Regions from separate parts of the Homo sapiens genome. Here region 1 is linked to region 2. Evidence: promoter capture Hi-C in 16 types of primary human blood cells and fetal thymus (Javierre and others, 2016). All regions are on one chromosome and are shown on one strand. Each heading gives the region's core, a stretch centred on a gene start or on the middle of the fragment in contact. The rest is flanking DNA. Distances are from core to core; before and after follow the strand shown.

The links. Contacts are between HindIII fragments. The CHiCAGO score rates a contact against its expected background, and 5 or more counts as called.
Region 1: a fragment that was not itself captured here is called in contact with the fragment with the promoter of SLCO5A1 in region 2 in 1 of 17 cell types (activated CD4 T cells); the score reaches 8.8 in activated CD4 T cells.

The regions. Positions count from the first base shown.
Region 1 is chr8:71,828,189-71,835,697 of GRCh38, forward strand. No RefSeq gene overlaps it. Among named protein-coding and RNA genes, the nearest start is that of MSC-AS1, 11 kb to the right of the region's middle. RefSeq lists enhancers at 2,353-3,552, 3,129-3,308, 4,984-5,033. The HindIII fragment of the contact is 152 bases long and covers 2,462-2,613 here.
Region 2 is chr8:69,832,728-69,839,467 of GRCh38, forward strand. SLCO5A1 (solute carrier organic anion transporter family member 5A1) reads right to left here and starts at 2,251. Exons shown (of 10, transcript NM_030958.3): 1 at 2,127-2,251; 2 at 1-442. SLCO5A1-AS1 (SLCO5A1 antisense RNA 1) reads left to right here and starts at 1,385. Exons shown (of 4, transcript NR_186568.1): 1 at 1,385-1,466. RefSeq lists silencers at 227-316, 2,407-2,516 and enhancers at 507-576, 2,007-2,086. The HindIII fragment of the contact is 8,160 bases long and covers 1-2,799 here.

The sequences.
Region 1 (7,509 bases), core at 1,288-3,787, 2.0 Mb after region 2:
TCCCCAAACAGCAGAAACAATGAGCGTGTAAGTACTTAATATAGTGGGGAAATACCCATTGACATATATTTACCGCCCTTGAATTTGGGTTTCAAAGGACTCATTTTTTTGAACTTGGTTACATCATGAAATTCACCTAACATAAAAATTAGCTCTTAAACACAGCTGATGTCAATGGGTAACTTTTCCCGGGGAAGCAGATGCTGCCCGGGTTGTGTGCAGAGCGCCATCCTGGAGGAGCCGGGCTGCAGGGAGCTCCTTGAGGAGCCACATCCAGACCTCTAGCACTGAGTTATCTTTGCCTCCGCTTACCTTCTTGTATCTGCAACAAACCTTTTTAACGTATTCACTCTTGCTTTTCTCAGTTTTTGATAATCAGCCACCTTGCTGTAGTAAAGGATCACACTGTGGAATGCTAAAAAAAAATTGCCATTTTAAAGTAGACAATTTACTGGCATTTAGCATATTCCCAATGTCACGAAATCACCATTTCTATAAGTTTCAAAATATTGTCACCATTCCAAACTAAAACCCCTTAGCTATTAAACAGTTTCTATGTTCCCTCCTTGAACTGGCAACAACTAATCTGTTTTTGTCCCAAAGGATTGATCTATTCTGAATATTTTATATAAATGGAATCATACAATGTGTGACCTTGTGTGTCTACCTGCTTTCACTTAGCATAATATTTTCAAGGTTCATCCATGTTGTAGCACGTGTCAGTGTTTCCTTCCTTTTTATGGTGAGAACTTCCAGTGCAGTGTTGAATAGTCATGGTGAAAACAGGCATCCTTGTCTTGTTCCTGACCTTATGGGGGAAAGCTTTCAGTCTTTCATATTGGGTTTGATGTTAGCATAAAGGCGTCTTATGGTGCTGGGGAAGTTGCCTTCTCCTGGTTTTCTGTTTTGTTTTGTTTTGTTTTTTATCGTGAAAGAGTGTGGGATTTTGTTAAATGCTTTTCTATGTCGATGAAGATGATTGTGTGAGTTTTCCCCTTCATTCTATAATGTGTATTACATTGACTGATTTTCTTATGCCACACCATTCTTGCATTTTGGGGCATATAGTACTTTTAATAACTTTTCTTTAAAAATGAAGATGTGTGTAAAGTATTGCACAAATATAGATGAGGTAGAATTAATTCTGCAGGTTAAGGCAGAGGGAGTGGGAAGGGTTTAGGGGAGGAAGACAAAGAGAAGTCAGCCAGTAAAAGACAGACCAGAAATGACCTTAAATGACAAGGGGATTTTTTTTTAAAAAGCCAAACTTTCAAGCAGCATCTTTCTCTAATCCAAGACAGATGAGAAGCCAGTTTCCAAAAATCCAGTTTCATTTTCCTTATCTTTAAAATGATTAGATTATTTTGATTTTTATTGTCATTGCTATAATTATAGTTTCTTATCCTGTTTATTTCATAAAATTTTCCTAGGTATTGCATAATTTGGGGCCATAATTTTACATTGTTGCACAACAGTCCCGGTTAGGTAATTACAGTAACCATATAGTCTTTGTTTTTTATTATCTTTAGAATGCCATGATAAACCAAAGTAGATTACTTATGAGATACCTTCTAGCTCTAAAGTTTTGTGGCTTTATGATTCTACGAAATCTGTACCACAGATTCTTCCCTAACTGCGCAAATTCTACATCACAAATCCTAGACGGTTAGAAAACCTCTCTCTGGCAATTTCATTAAATCTACTGTACTTCTTATATGTTTCAATTCACACATGTTTTCTCTTTTTCTGTCTTTGGTGAAGATGGAAAAAAGTGGATCACTTGTTGTTGGTGGGAAATTGTTTGTTCCTATAACTCACTTAAGCAAGTATCTATTAAGGTCAAACAAAAATGATCAGCTCTTCTAGGCAGACTGGGGCTTCTCCTCGGTCATGGCATTTCTTGGCTCCCCTACCTCAGTTTCTCCCAGGAGCAGTTCTTTGTTCATCTTCAGATTGGCCACTCCCTGCCTCCACTGCTGGGCTCTCCAGGAGTATGTAATTTTGTGAGCTAAAAATCCTAAGTGAGAATAGATCTATTTTCTTTTTAGTTCAGCACATATAAATTGGGTGTTTTTCAAATCATCTTCATTATAAAATAAAGAGGAAAGCAAACCCAAAAAGAAACAAATATGTTTATAGACAAGTGCCACTCCCTGGGTTGCATTGGTGGGCACCGCCAAGGAAGCAGACAGCCTTGACTCCTTTCTGCGCTTTCGTCCCGTGTCAAGCCCTCGGAAGGAGGTATAGCTCTATGGCTCATCCGTTGTTCCGAGTTAACTCCTAAAGTTCAGTTAGTCTCATCGGTGGGCACCATCTTCCCACCAGCTTCCTTTCACCCCAGCAGACAACTTTTGGGGAGGCTCAGGGAATGGTTTTGGGTTCAGATTCTTAGCTAGAGAGAAATAGATTTAAACTCTGATTCCACCAGTTATTCCCTGTGTGGCCCTTGGAAGGTTATTGAAGCTTTGAGAGCCTGTTTTCCCACCCATAAATCAAGACTATCACAGGCCTATTCATGGGCCTGATCAGAGGCATTAAAGGGCTGATATCTGTAAAGCGTATAGCATGGTGCTTAGCGTGTTTACAGTATGAATTTGCCTCTTCCAATTTTAAAGCTTTACATTTTAAAGTACTTTACTGAACTCAGTCAATACTCTTCTTTTTCTGTCTGAGGGCTCCCTAGCACCATCAGATTATGTACAGCAGAAATAGTAGTGTCAAATGGTAGTGACTAATTAGACATACTTTCTTAGTTGTCTGTGATGACTACATATCTCGGGTGGTTCCAGGGTATGGACTTTCCCAAATCAAATCACCCTCGTTTTACAAGTGAGAAGGAATTTAAACTAAAGAGTAGCAATAACTATTTTCTATCAAGAGAAATTTATTAAATATTTATTGATCATCTGCTTTGTACCAGACAGATGGAGGTTGTAATTTCATAAGACACAAAATGAAAAATGATGATTCCTGCTCTGAAGATATTTAGAATCCAATGAAAGAAAAAAGGCATGCTCACATGCGATCAAGGCAAGGGCCCTGTTTCCAAGCTTTGTGTCTCTGAGCTGCACAAACCCCTTCTCTCTTTAAGCTTTCAGTTATGATTTTACCCCCTCTGAAAGAATCTAAGTCCCCAGAGTAAGACCAAATTTGATAAGAATCTGTATGGGCCAATGGATGGTAGAGTTCCCAAATGAATGGCAAAGTTTCTCAATTCTGTACTGTTTCAAACTTGCCCTTTTAAATTTTAGTGATAAATCATGACTCATGATGACTTTGCTATTCACTGTCTGGCCCGAATTAGAAACCTTGTAGTCATTGTGGCTTTTACCCTGGCTTTCATCACACACATCCAGTCTATAACCCAGTTAATTTGATTCTAGCAGTCAAAAGTCTCTTGGCTCTATCCCTGGTATTCCCACCACCATCGTCTCAGCCTAGGCCTCAGTTTCTTTTGCCTGGACTGTCCAACTTGTGCTCTGTTCAATCTATTCTGCACATTGCCAGACAAAGTAGCTTTCTATGAGTCTGTGCTCAGGTGAATCACATATCGGGATATGGGACAGGTTTAAAGGTCCGAGTATAGAAACAACAACAGTATATTTTGAGAAGTCTTGGAGAAAGGTGAAAATTGTCACAGGGAGATGTCCTAACCTAAAAAGGGAAAACTCACTAGATTCTTGAAACGATAGGTCAAATTTCAGCATCTCCTAGGTTGTCAGGAGTTTGAAGAAAACCAGTAGTTGTTTATATATTATACTTTTTCCTGAAGATTCTTTTATTTGGATCTGATGTTTTTCCACTATAATTTTTACTCTGGAGCAAACCAAACTCAATCATAGAATCTTTTTAAAAGGTCTGAACAGATCTTGTGTTTGGGTTTTTTTTTCAGACAGTCTCTTTCTGTCGCCCAGGCTGGAGTGCAGTGGCACGATCTCGTCTCACTGCAAGCTCCGCCTCCTGGGTTCACGCCGTTCTCCTGCCTCAGTCTCCCGAGTAGCTGGGACTACAGGTGCCCGCCACCATGCCTGGCTAATTTTTGTGTATTTTTAGTAGAGACGGAGTTTCACCGTGTTAGCCAGGATGGTTTCGATCTCCTGACCTCATGATCCACCCACCTCGGCCTCCCAAAGTGCTGGGATTACAGGCTTGAGCCACCGTGCCTGGCCAGGTTTTTAAACACTAATGAAAGTTTGTTTTGAGACTAGAACAGTTTTAAGTACCATCATTTCTGTGCTTATTTGGTTTCCATATAATGTGGAGAAGTTGTTTTCTACCTTTGTAAGATTAAATACTTATCACAGAAATGAAGAGTCTGTGGCAAAGTTTATCATCAACAGTGAAATCACGTAGAGATATTACAGATCTTCTGCAGAACAAGTCAAAAGACACCTGAATGGCTTGAGTTTCATCTGTTAGGTTGGTGCAAAAGTAATTGAGGTTTTTGCCATTGAAAGTAATGGCAAAAACCTCAGTAACTTTTGCACCAAACTCATAAAACATTTAAGTGTAGGTTGACTTTGTTCATTTTCTCAAGCTTTCAGCCTCCCCGTATTGTGATGTACTAGCAATAAAGGGAGACATAATCAGTGCTATTCTGAAGACCCACAGTAAGCAGGGCATTCATTTAAAACTATGGTGCAGTTAAGGCCCCATCCAGCCCAGACCCCTCATTTTAGGTGAGAAATCATAGTTGGAAGAGGGAGAGACTGCCCAAGGCCACCCAACAAGTCAGGCTCTGAGAACGCCCCACTTGCAACCCCACGCGGGCTCCGGGGCACTTGGCCAGTGTGCATGGAAAACAGCTGCAGAGAAATAGCTGTCATGGTGCCAAATTCTTATCTGCTGGTGTCCTTCAGATTGGGTGGGCTGGATGCCAAGGGGAAACTCAGAGTCTGTGAATTCTAATCCTGGACCTGCTAGTAAACAGTTCTGGTCATAGGGTCTTAAATTTCCCTCCCTTTGTCACAGGCTGTTGTTAGTCTAGCAACCAGGGGATAATTCCCTGAAGTGACTGAGCAGAGCTTCTGGGATCCACCCCAGGAGACCTGAAAAGCAGAGGAGCATCCTGAGAGTCCATCTGAGTCAGTGCCTATTGTTGGTGTTGCTTTAACCCTGATATGTTATAGTGGCCATACCATCAATCTACACACTTTTCTATCCAGCTCTCCTGACCATGCAAATGTACTTTACTCTCTATTCCCTCACCCCCAGCATGAGCCAGAAGTGTTGCTTCTCATGCAAATCAATACCTTGAGATTTTCAAAATTCTGAAGAGGCCAACCTTTTCAGAGGAGAACTGAAACAGAATCAGTTAAAGGCTCATATCTTTCAGCTTTAAGGGAAAATGAGTGACTCTGAATGGTCAGGGATAGGCCCCTCAGCACCTGCTTAAAGTTTGTCAAGAGAACATGGAGATCATCTCAGTGCGATGATAATGGTGACAACAATACTAATAGACTAGCATTTGCTAAGCACTTACTATGTGCCAGGCACTGTGCTAAGTATTTCACTTCCAATATTGCATTTAATCTTCCCAACAAAGCCATCAGGTAGCTTCTATTATATCATCATTCTACAAATGAGAACACTGAGGCTCAGGGATTTGAAGTCCCTTGTAAGAGTCCATGTTCTTAACCACCATCCTAGATGATAATCCCCATCACTGGTTAGTGATGGCAGCCTGCTGTCATTTATATTCTTCTGGTATGCCCTCCTGCTGCCTTGCCTAGCCTCCTCCAATAGTCACCTCCCTTGTCGGCTCTCTGGGAAGACCCCCATGACAGCCTGGGGCTGGGGTTTGTGCCTTTCCTCTCACAGCGCCACCTTCTGTCATAGCCCTTGGCACACTGCACTTCAATTGTTGGGCCATTTGTCCTTTTCCTCCTTTAGAGCTCTTTGAGAAGAGGCAACTCTCTGATTCATTCTGGTCTATCCAGCACTGTCCTGGGTAATAGCAGATGATCAAAAAATGTTTCTTGAATAAATGGCTGATGTGAAAAATTTACTTGACAGTATGTTTTGGTTATCTATTGCTGAGTATCAAAGAACTCCAAATTTAGTTGCTTAAAATAACAACTATATTTTCATTTTTCATGACTCTGTAGGTCAGGAATTAGGACAGGACCTAGCGGGAATGGTGCACCTCTGCTATCTGTCCTGTAAGGCTTCTTCTCATTCCACTAGGATGATTTCACAGCTGGCTGGAATGGCACCCCTGGGGTCCTGGGGTCCTAAGATTGCATGTCTGGGGTCTGAGTCTGCACTGTCAGCTGGGCTCCTTGGTTCTCTCAGTGTGGTCTTAGGGCATCTCTCTCTCAGGTGGTTTCGCCATTTGGTGCCCTCAGGGACTTGGTTGGACTTCTCACATGGACGCATAAGGATCCCAATAAGTAAATGAGGAAGCTGCTAGCCCTTACTGCTTAGGCCAGAACTGGCAGAGTCACTTCTGCCTCCTTTCTATTGGTTAAAGCAAGTAACTGGGCCACCCCTACACAGGGCCTGGAGACTAGGGGGTCTGGTTCACTGGGGACCATTCTTGTGACTAGGCACCCCATAGTTTAATAGAGCCATCTTTGTCCCTCTCCAAGTCTCCAAAGAAATGTTAGTCAAAGGAAGACTGATCCCGAGAAGGTGGATAGCTTAGCCTATTTCATCACCACAACTTGAGGGAAAACCTATAATGAAAATAAATAAATGTTAGAGATACCCAGAGAGTCTGTGCATGTAAACAGCTGGTAATACAGTGCCTTGTCAGAAACATCTACGATGCTTGACTCAAGAGCATAGCATTTAGCCTGTGCCAGCAGCGCACCTCTGGCAATGCAAAGATTTGAACTGTGTTATAACTCTGGTCTTTCCCATCACTCACAGACCCGTCCTCTTTTTATATTTTGTTTACCCACCTTTTCCTCTCAGGCTCCTAAGGCCTTTGTTTCCACATTTTAGAGCATTGCCATTTATGGTATAGGTGCTCCTTAGCTGGATTTTGTATGAGGAGTCTGTGTTAGTTTGTTTGCATCGCTATAAAGAAATACCCAAGACTGGGTAACTTTTAAAGAAAAGAGGTTTATTTTGGCTCACAGTTCCGCAAGCTTTGCAGGAAGAGTGGTGCCGGCATCTGCTTCTGATGAGGGCCTTAGGAAGCCTACAATCGTGGTAAAAGGCAAAGGGGGAGCAGGCGTATCACATGGCTAGAGAGGGAGCAAGAGAGAGGAGGTGCTAGGCTCCTTTAAACAGCCAGCTCCTGTGTGTACTAAGTGAGGACTCACTCGTTACCAAGGAGATGGTGCTAAGCCCCTTGTGAGGGATATGCCCCCATGATCCAATATCTCCTGCCAGGCCCTACCTCCAACATTGGGGATCACATTTCAATGTGAGATTTGGAGGGGACAAAGATCCAAACCATATCAGAGTCCTTGTCACTTTTGCACAAGGGACCCTCCTTTCCCCCTCCCTAGCTCTTGGAACAGTTTCTTTAAAGATTGTTCAAATCCCTTGGCCTTCATG
Region 2 (6,740 bases), core at 1,001-3,500:
TCATCCACCGGCACGAGGGGCCGAAGCCGGGCCCAGTCAGTCTTGCCCACCTGGGACTGGGGCTGGGGGCGCAGGGCCGCGCAGCAGGGCATCCTCACCAGCTGCGAGGCGCCCAGTGCATCCTGATCACAGACACGGCTTCAAGGCTCCGCAGCCGCGTGCCACAGGGGGCAGGGGTCCGCGCGGTACTGCGATGAGCCCTACTCGGCGTCCCTCTCCGGGCGGTAGCTTGAGGCAGGCGCCTCGCGCGTCCCGGGCTCATCCCCTCCGCCGCCGCCGCCGCCGCCGCCGCTGGGCCCGCGGCCAGGAGCGAGTGCACCCTGCGCCGGGGGTGGGGGGGCACTTAGCGCTGCTGTCCGTACAGCATCCCACCTCGCTGCGCCAGGGGTACCGGGTGTTCGCCGCCTGGGCTCGCGGCACCCTCGGGAGTGAAGCTGCCGACCTGCAAAGCAGAAAGAGGGCGGTCAGCGAAGAGCGGCTGCGGCTTGGGGCTAGCGTCCCAGCGCCCCGGGGACCAGGGTTAGGTGACCCCGAACCGTCCCTAGAGGGACGGAGGAGCTAGTCAGGAGCGGAGCCCCGGAGGACTAGGCAGCAGCCGGCTGCAGTCTCCAGTCCCGGAACAATAAGCAGCAGGCGGTCGGCGGAGACTCTCCCTCATTGTCTGCCGCGGACCTGCCCCCGTCCCGCCCCTTCTGCCTTAAACATTGCGTTTGCTTTTATATGTTAATAATTATCAACCTGGCAGCTCTGACTCAGAGGCAGTGTCTTTTAATCGAGTGAACTAACTGCAGCCTTTCCGTACTCCTACTCCATTACTCAAAATAGAAAATGCCCAAAAGAACAAAGGAAACTTTTTCACAGACACACAATGTATTCCCTGTCCCAATTTTTCTAAAAGGAAAAAAGAAGGTGGGGGTAAACTACGTGTGTAGAAATGTGTGTGCACACTGGTGTGCGTTGGCACGTGTGCGCGACTAGATTTGAATCTGTCTGCTCCACCAGAGACACACATTCAAAGCCGAAGGCAGCAGCAAAAAGGTCAACATGCTTGCCTCTTTATTCCCAACACCAAAAATAACCCCCTGACCGAAAGAACTCTTCAATTACAAATACCAGGGGCATTCGAGGCTGTGGCCCGCACTAAGTCCCAGAGCGCGGTATCAAACGAAACCGAAAATCCGTCTGCTTTGCCGAGAGCTAGGGAAGCCACAACCAAACAAAGAGATCCCGGCACGCTGTCAGAGAGCGCGCGAGGAGCCCACGGAGCCGGCTGGGCGCACGCGGGCCGGCGGGGAGGTGTGCTATTGACTGAGCGCACCCCGCTAGCGTGGGCCTGGGGAGCGTGTGCGCGTGCGCGGCCACACACACACACACACACACACACACACACACACACACACACCGGCGTACTGGAACCTCTCTCGCGATCCCGCACCCAGCTTGAATTCAGCAAGAATCGAAAACAGGTGTGCCCCCGTGGTAAGACCCCGCCCCTAATCTTGGGGACCCCCACTCCACTCCTCCAGCCTGGGGCAAGGACGGGGGGCGGAATATGCACCAGGTGGGAGACAGCCGAGCTTCACTACACTGGGTTTCATTTTGCAGCGCGCCTTTGTGATGCTGCTGAGAAAAGAAAGGAGGAAGGGCAAGGGAGAAAGGCAGAGAGGCTGGGCGGCCAAGGGTGGCCGCTCCGGCATCTCCCTCGGCTGTGCTGGGCCAAACCCGCTCCCAGATTCCCGGCCTGCCAGCCACTCACAATCCCGGGCTTCCCCGCCGCTGCCTTACCCAGGCGCCTTCCCGGGGAACCCCACCAGCCGCTGCGTGAGGAGCCGGGGAATCCCAGCAAACTCTCGCCGCTCGCGGGGGGCGTCCGAACCCCCTGCTTAGGCGAGCGCCCTCACAGCATCGCAGACTCGGATGGACACGCGGATCCCGGCAGGGAGCTCTTGGAGCAGGCGTGGAATCCCAGGGACACCCCCTGCGCGCACATCACATACACGCACATCCTACACACACACACACACACACACACACACACACACACACACACACAGAGCCCGTGGGAAGACAAGACCGCCGGCGACAGCCCGCCGCGCTGCCCGGGCGCTCAAGCCGCCGCTACTCACTAGCGAGTCTGTCAGTCTGTCTGCCTGGCTGAGTAGAGCGGCGGGAGGGGGGCACTGAGCTACGGGAATAGTTGGGAGCCGCGTGAGGAGGCAGCCTCCGTCCAGCCGAAGAGAAATCAGTGAATGAGACTGTGACTCAGGCTGAACTCTTCCCCCCACCCCTCGCCTGTCACCCAAGCCTCTCCTCCGCTCCAAACAGACACACGCGCACAGAGACGCGCCCGGAGAGGAGCAGCCGAGGGCGCAGGCGCGAGGGCAGCCACCCAGCCCAGCCCTCCCACAGCCAGCCACCCCGCTGCCCTTCACCTGCGTGGCTGCGGGGGCCCAAGAGCGCTGAAGCCCCGAGGGAGCCGGTCTCTAGAAAAGTCAGCGGCTGAAGCTGACAGCCCACTCTGAATAAATAAATCATTTCTGATCGTTTATTCCGTGCCTTGGGCACACACCATGTCTCATTCACCATAGTAGATTCTGGGACCAAAGATAAACAAGACAAGATACTTGGTCGGAGGAAACCTCTGGCTTGTGGGGGAAATACTCATGTAAATGGCTTAAAACAACGTGGTACATCTATGCAGCCTGCTACTGGAGTAGCCAATATCCATTAGCCTTCATTTCCACGCAGCAGGAAGAACAGAGGCACGGGGGCATGGTGCTGCCAGTCAATAGGTAGATAAGCTTCCTAGAAGATTGCAGGGATGGGGCAGAGGACCAGACTGCAAGAGTGGCTGAGTAGAAAGGGGCACTACGGGTTTCCTAAGTTGTGTACTGTCAATAATGTGGGGGCAATGACGTTCTGACTTCCTCACCAGAGAGCTGGCTCTGGCAGTGACAGGTAGACAGATGTGAGGCCACACTGCGGGCACAGAAGTGAGTTGGGAGGCAGTCTGAAAGCAAAATGTGATGAGGCATTGGCAGGGGGCATGGAGAGGAGGGAACTGGGCAGCTGATGCAATCTGCAAGAGAAGAAAACCAGCCGAGGTAGGATGACTCCCAAGTTTCTAGCACCAAGTTGGGTGACTACGTGCCTGACAGCCAATAAAAGCACAGGTGGAGAAACATGCTTTAGGAGAAAGATTGTTCTCATCTACATGTGTTGAGTTTGAAATGTTTGGGGGACATCCCAGTGTACGTGTCCCATAAGCCACTGGACACACAGGAGGTTTGGACTAGGAATATTGATCAGTAGTCATCAGCCCAAAGGTGGCATGAGAAAGGATGGAATGAATAGGGAAGATCATCCAAATTGTGAAGAATCTAGGAGGACAGCGTACAGCCAAAGGAAGGAGACTGGAAGCAAGGGTCAGAGAGGTGTGGGACGCATCAGAAAAGCCAAAAGAGCAGACGACTGTAAGAAGGGAAGGGTCAGATGTGTACAGGCTGCAGGGAAGACAAACAGGATGATAACTGAAAAAAAAAAAAAAAAAGAGTATCTGAGGGCACTTGTGACCATTGACAGAGCAGGATAGTGCTCTAATGGAGGAAAGGAGGTTGCTCACAAGTACCAGTGACCATGCTGGCCATTGCTGCCAGGTCGAAGCCCCTCCACTGGCCCTTGGCCTTGCCCAATGAAAGCATTGTCTCCATTTTACAGATGTGATAAGTGTAGAGAGGTTAAGTAACTTTATATAGGCACACAGCTGCTCTGTAGACAATATGAACCAATGTGCTCCAAAAGACTATGTTCTTACTTAACCTCTTAACCCTGACTCTCTACCCTCTCTCCTGCCATTGAATAACATCCTGACTCGTCAATGCACCTTGATTCTTTTGATTATCTCCCTTTAGTCCAACAACCGTCGTATCTACAGCGATCCTTAGAGAACAATTAAGGCCAGTTGACAGTAAAGAACAATCAGTGTGTATTTGAAGTCCATGCTGAGAGAGCATCAATCTTCTGGCAGCTGCAAGACTGACCTATCAACCGAGGCATTTCTTCATTCCCTGCCATTGTCTCCTCCTCTTGAGATCGCCATCAGGCACAGTCACTTTTCTACAAACAGGCAATAGGACTCCCGCTGCCACCCTGCCCAGATTTTAGTCCTCTACTGCTGATAAAGTGAGCAAAGATACGTGGCACTTCCTGAACCCAAATACTCTTCTGAGCTGATTCTAAATCCACACAGAATCAACCTACCTCCTATTACCTCCTTCCAAGCTCTGTGTCCCATTCTCTCATTTCAGTCTCAGCTCCAGACATCAGTGAATTCAATGTGATACATCAGGGGACATCACAGGACTTCCCTACTTGAAAATCAAGCAATCGTGTCCCTGAAACACTCTGTCTTTATTCATGCTCAGTTACCGTAAAGTAGATGCAACTCTAAGAACCTATGGATTTTTTTATTGCCACTAATAGATCATGATTTACAGCAAAATTTTAAAAGGTCCAATTTTACTCACATAAGAAGAAGAAAACATTCAGCAAGAAGCATTTCTTTTGCTTTATCTTTCCCAGTTAAATATGACTTTAAAAAAGACAAAATTTTAAAAGGTCCAATTTTACTCACAAAAGAAGAAGAAAACATTCAGCAAGAAGCATTTCTTTTGCTTTATCTTTCCCAGTTAAATATGACTTTAAAAAAGACAAAATTTTAAAAGGTCCAATTTTACTCACATAGGAAACAAGAAGAAAACATTCAGCAAGAAGCATTTCTTTTGCTTTATCTTTCCCAGTTAAATATGACTTTGAAAAAGAAGAGCACACCTCATTAGCCGTAATTGTCTGATTAATACAAAGAAATGGACTCATATCACGGGGTTCTACTACCCCTATGGTAGTGTTTACTATCCTTATTTCACTCAATAATTACAGTTACTTTAACCAGAATGCCTGCCTTGTTTGGCATTTTGGGAGAGGAAGCATATGACTGTAAACCCTCTTCAAACTTTCAGACTTACGTTTGCTTCTTCTAAGTCCATCGACTTTATACATAAATGACTTCTTTTTAAAAATAAATAAATAAATAAATAAATAAATGATTTCTTTCCTGATCTTCATATAACAAGTATGTAGCCTTTGCAATTTCCAGGGCAGTCTACAGGTTTAAAATCTGGCCGTCCTGGAGAATGGGCAGAAGAAAGCTGAAGGGAGCCTTTTCCCACAGCCCTTCCCTTCCTTCTTAAAGAAGGTTCACTTCAGAGGTCTCCCAGATACAACAAGAACTGAGTTTTTGGTTCAGAATATTTTGTGGGTGCAAAACATAATACATAGTTGCCAGTAACATAATTGAATTAGGTGTTGGTTGTTTAAGAGGAGACACATTGTATCTTTAAGGTAGCCCCTTAATAGAACTTGGCATGTATATCCTTCCTTAGAAGTGAATTTCAGGTTGGGTAAAACCTGAGAAGGAACAGATCTGGCCCTGGGGTACAATGAATGCAGGCAATCACTCCAGCCCTGGTGGCTTGAGGGCCCTGCAAGTGCTAAAGGAGTATAGTGACCAACTGTGTCCAAAGAGACTTAGCACTGCAAGTCCCACACCCCCAAGAAACCACAGTTCCATGAACACCTGGAGGCTTGGCTCCCTATAAAGAAACTGCCACCTCCCTTAATATAATTAAGCCAGATTAGCTGGGTACTGTGGCTCACACCTGTAACCCCAGCACTTTAAGAGGCTGAGATGGGAGGATCCCTTGAGAACACATTTCCACTAAAAAAAAATTTTTTTTAAATAGCCAGGCATGGTGGCATATGCCTGTGGTCTCAGCAACTCAGGAGGCTGAGGCAAAAGGATCACTTAAGCCCAGGAGGTAGAGGCTGCAGTAGGCTGTGATTGCGCGACTGCACTCCAGCCTGGGCAACAGAGCAAGACCCTGTCTCAAAAAATAAACAAACAAACAAAAACCAACAACAACAAAAAATAATTAAGCCAGGCCAGGTGCAGTGGCTCATGCCTGTAATCCCAACACTTTGGGAGGCCGAGGTGGGTGGATCACCTGCGGTCGGGAGTTCAAGGCCAGCCTGACCAACATGGAAAAACCCCATCTCTACTAAAAATACAAAATTAGCTGGGTGTGGTGGCACATGCCTGTAACCCCAGCTACTTGGGAGGCTGAGGCAAGAGAATCACTTGAACTGGGGAGGCGGAGGTTGCAGTGAGCCGAGATCGCACCATTGCACTCCAGCCTGGGTAACAAGAGTGAAACTCCATCTCAACAATAATAATAATAATAATAAAGCCAGATACTCCAAGGCTAGTAATGGAGGGAAACTTCCCTGTGAAGAGGAGACAGTTGTCTTAAAAAAAAAATCATGTTCCCTTGAAAGATGTTTCATAATTACCACCACTGCCACCTTGGCCTGGAAAAGAAAGTGGTCGGATGGGAAGGGGAAGGAAGCAGGTTAGAAGAGGCAGTCCTCCATGGGCTGTGAGCATCTCTACATGTTTCTCTTGGGTGCACCTAGAATGCAAAGCCCTAACCACTTCTGAATGCAGAGAAACTCAAACTGCATTGTCCTCTGCTCTCATACCGCAACAATCAACACAAAAGACTTCTGTGACCAGATGTTGGTGGGCAGTCTACACCAACAAGCAATCAGTTCTGCAGAAGACACCAGCTGGGCATCCTCCAATTCAACTCCGTTCTGACACTATCTACCTCAAGATAGCATCA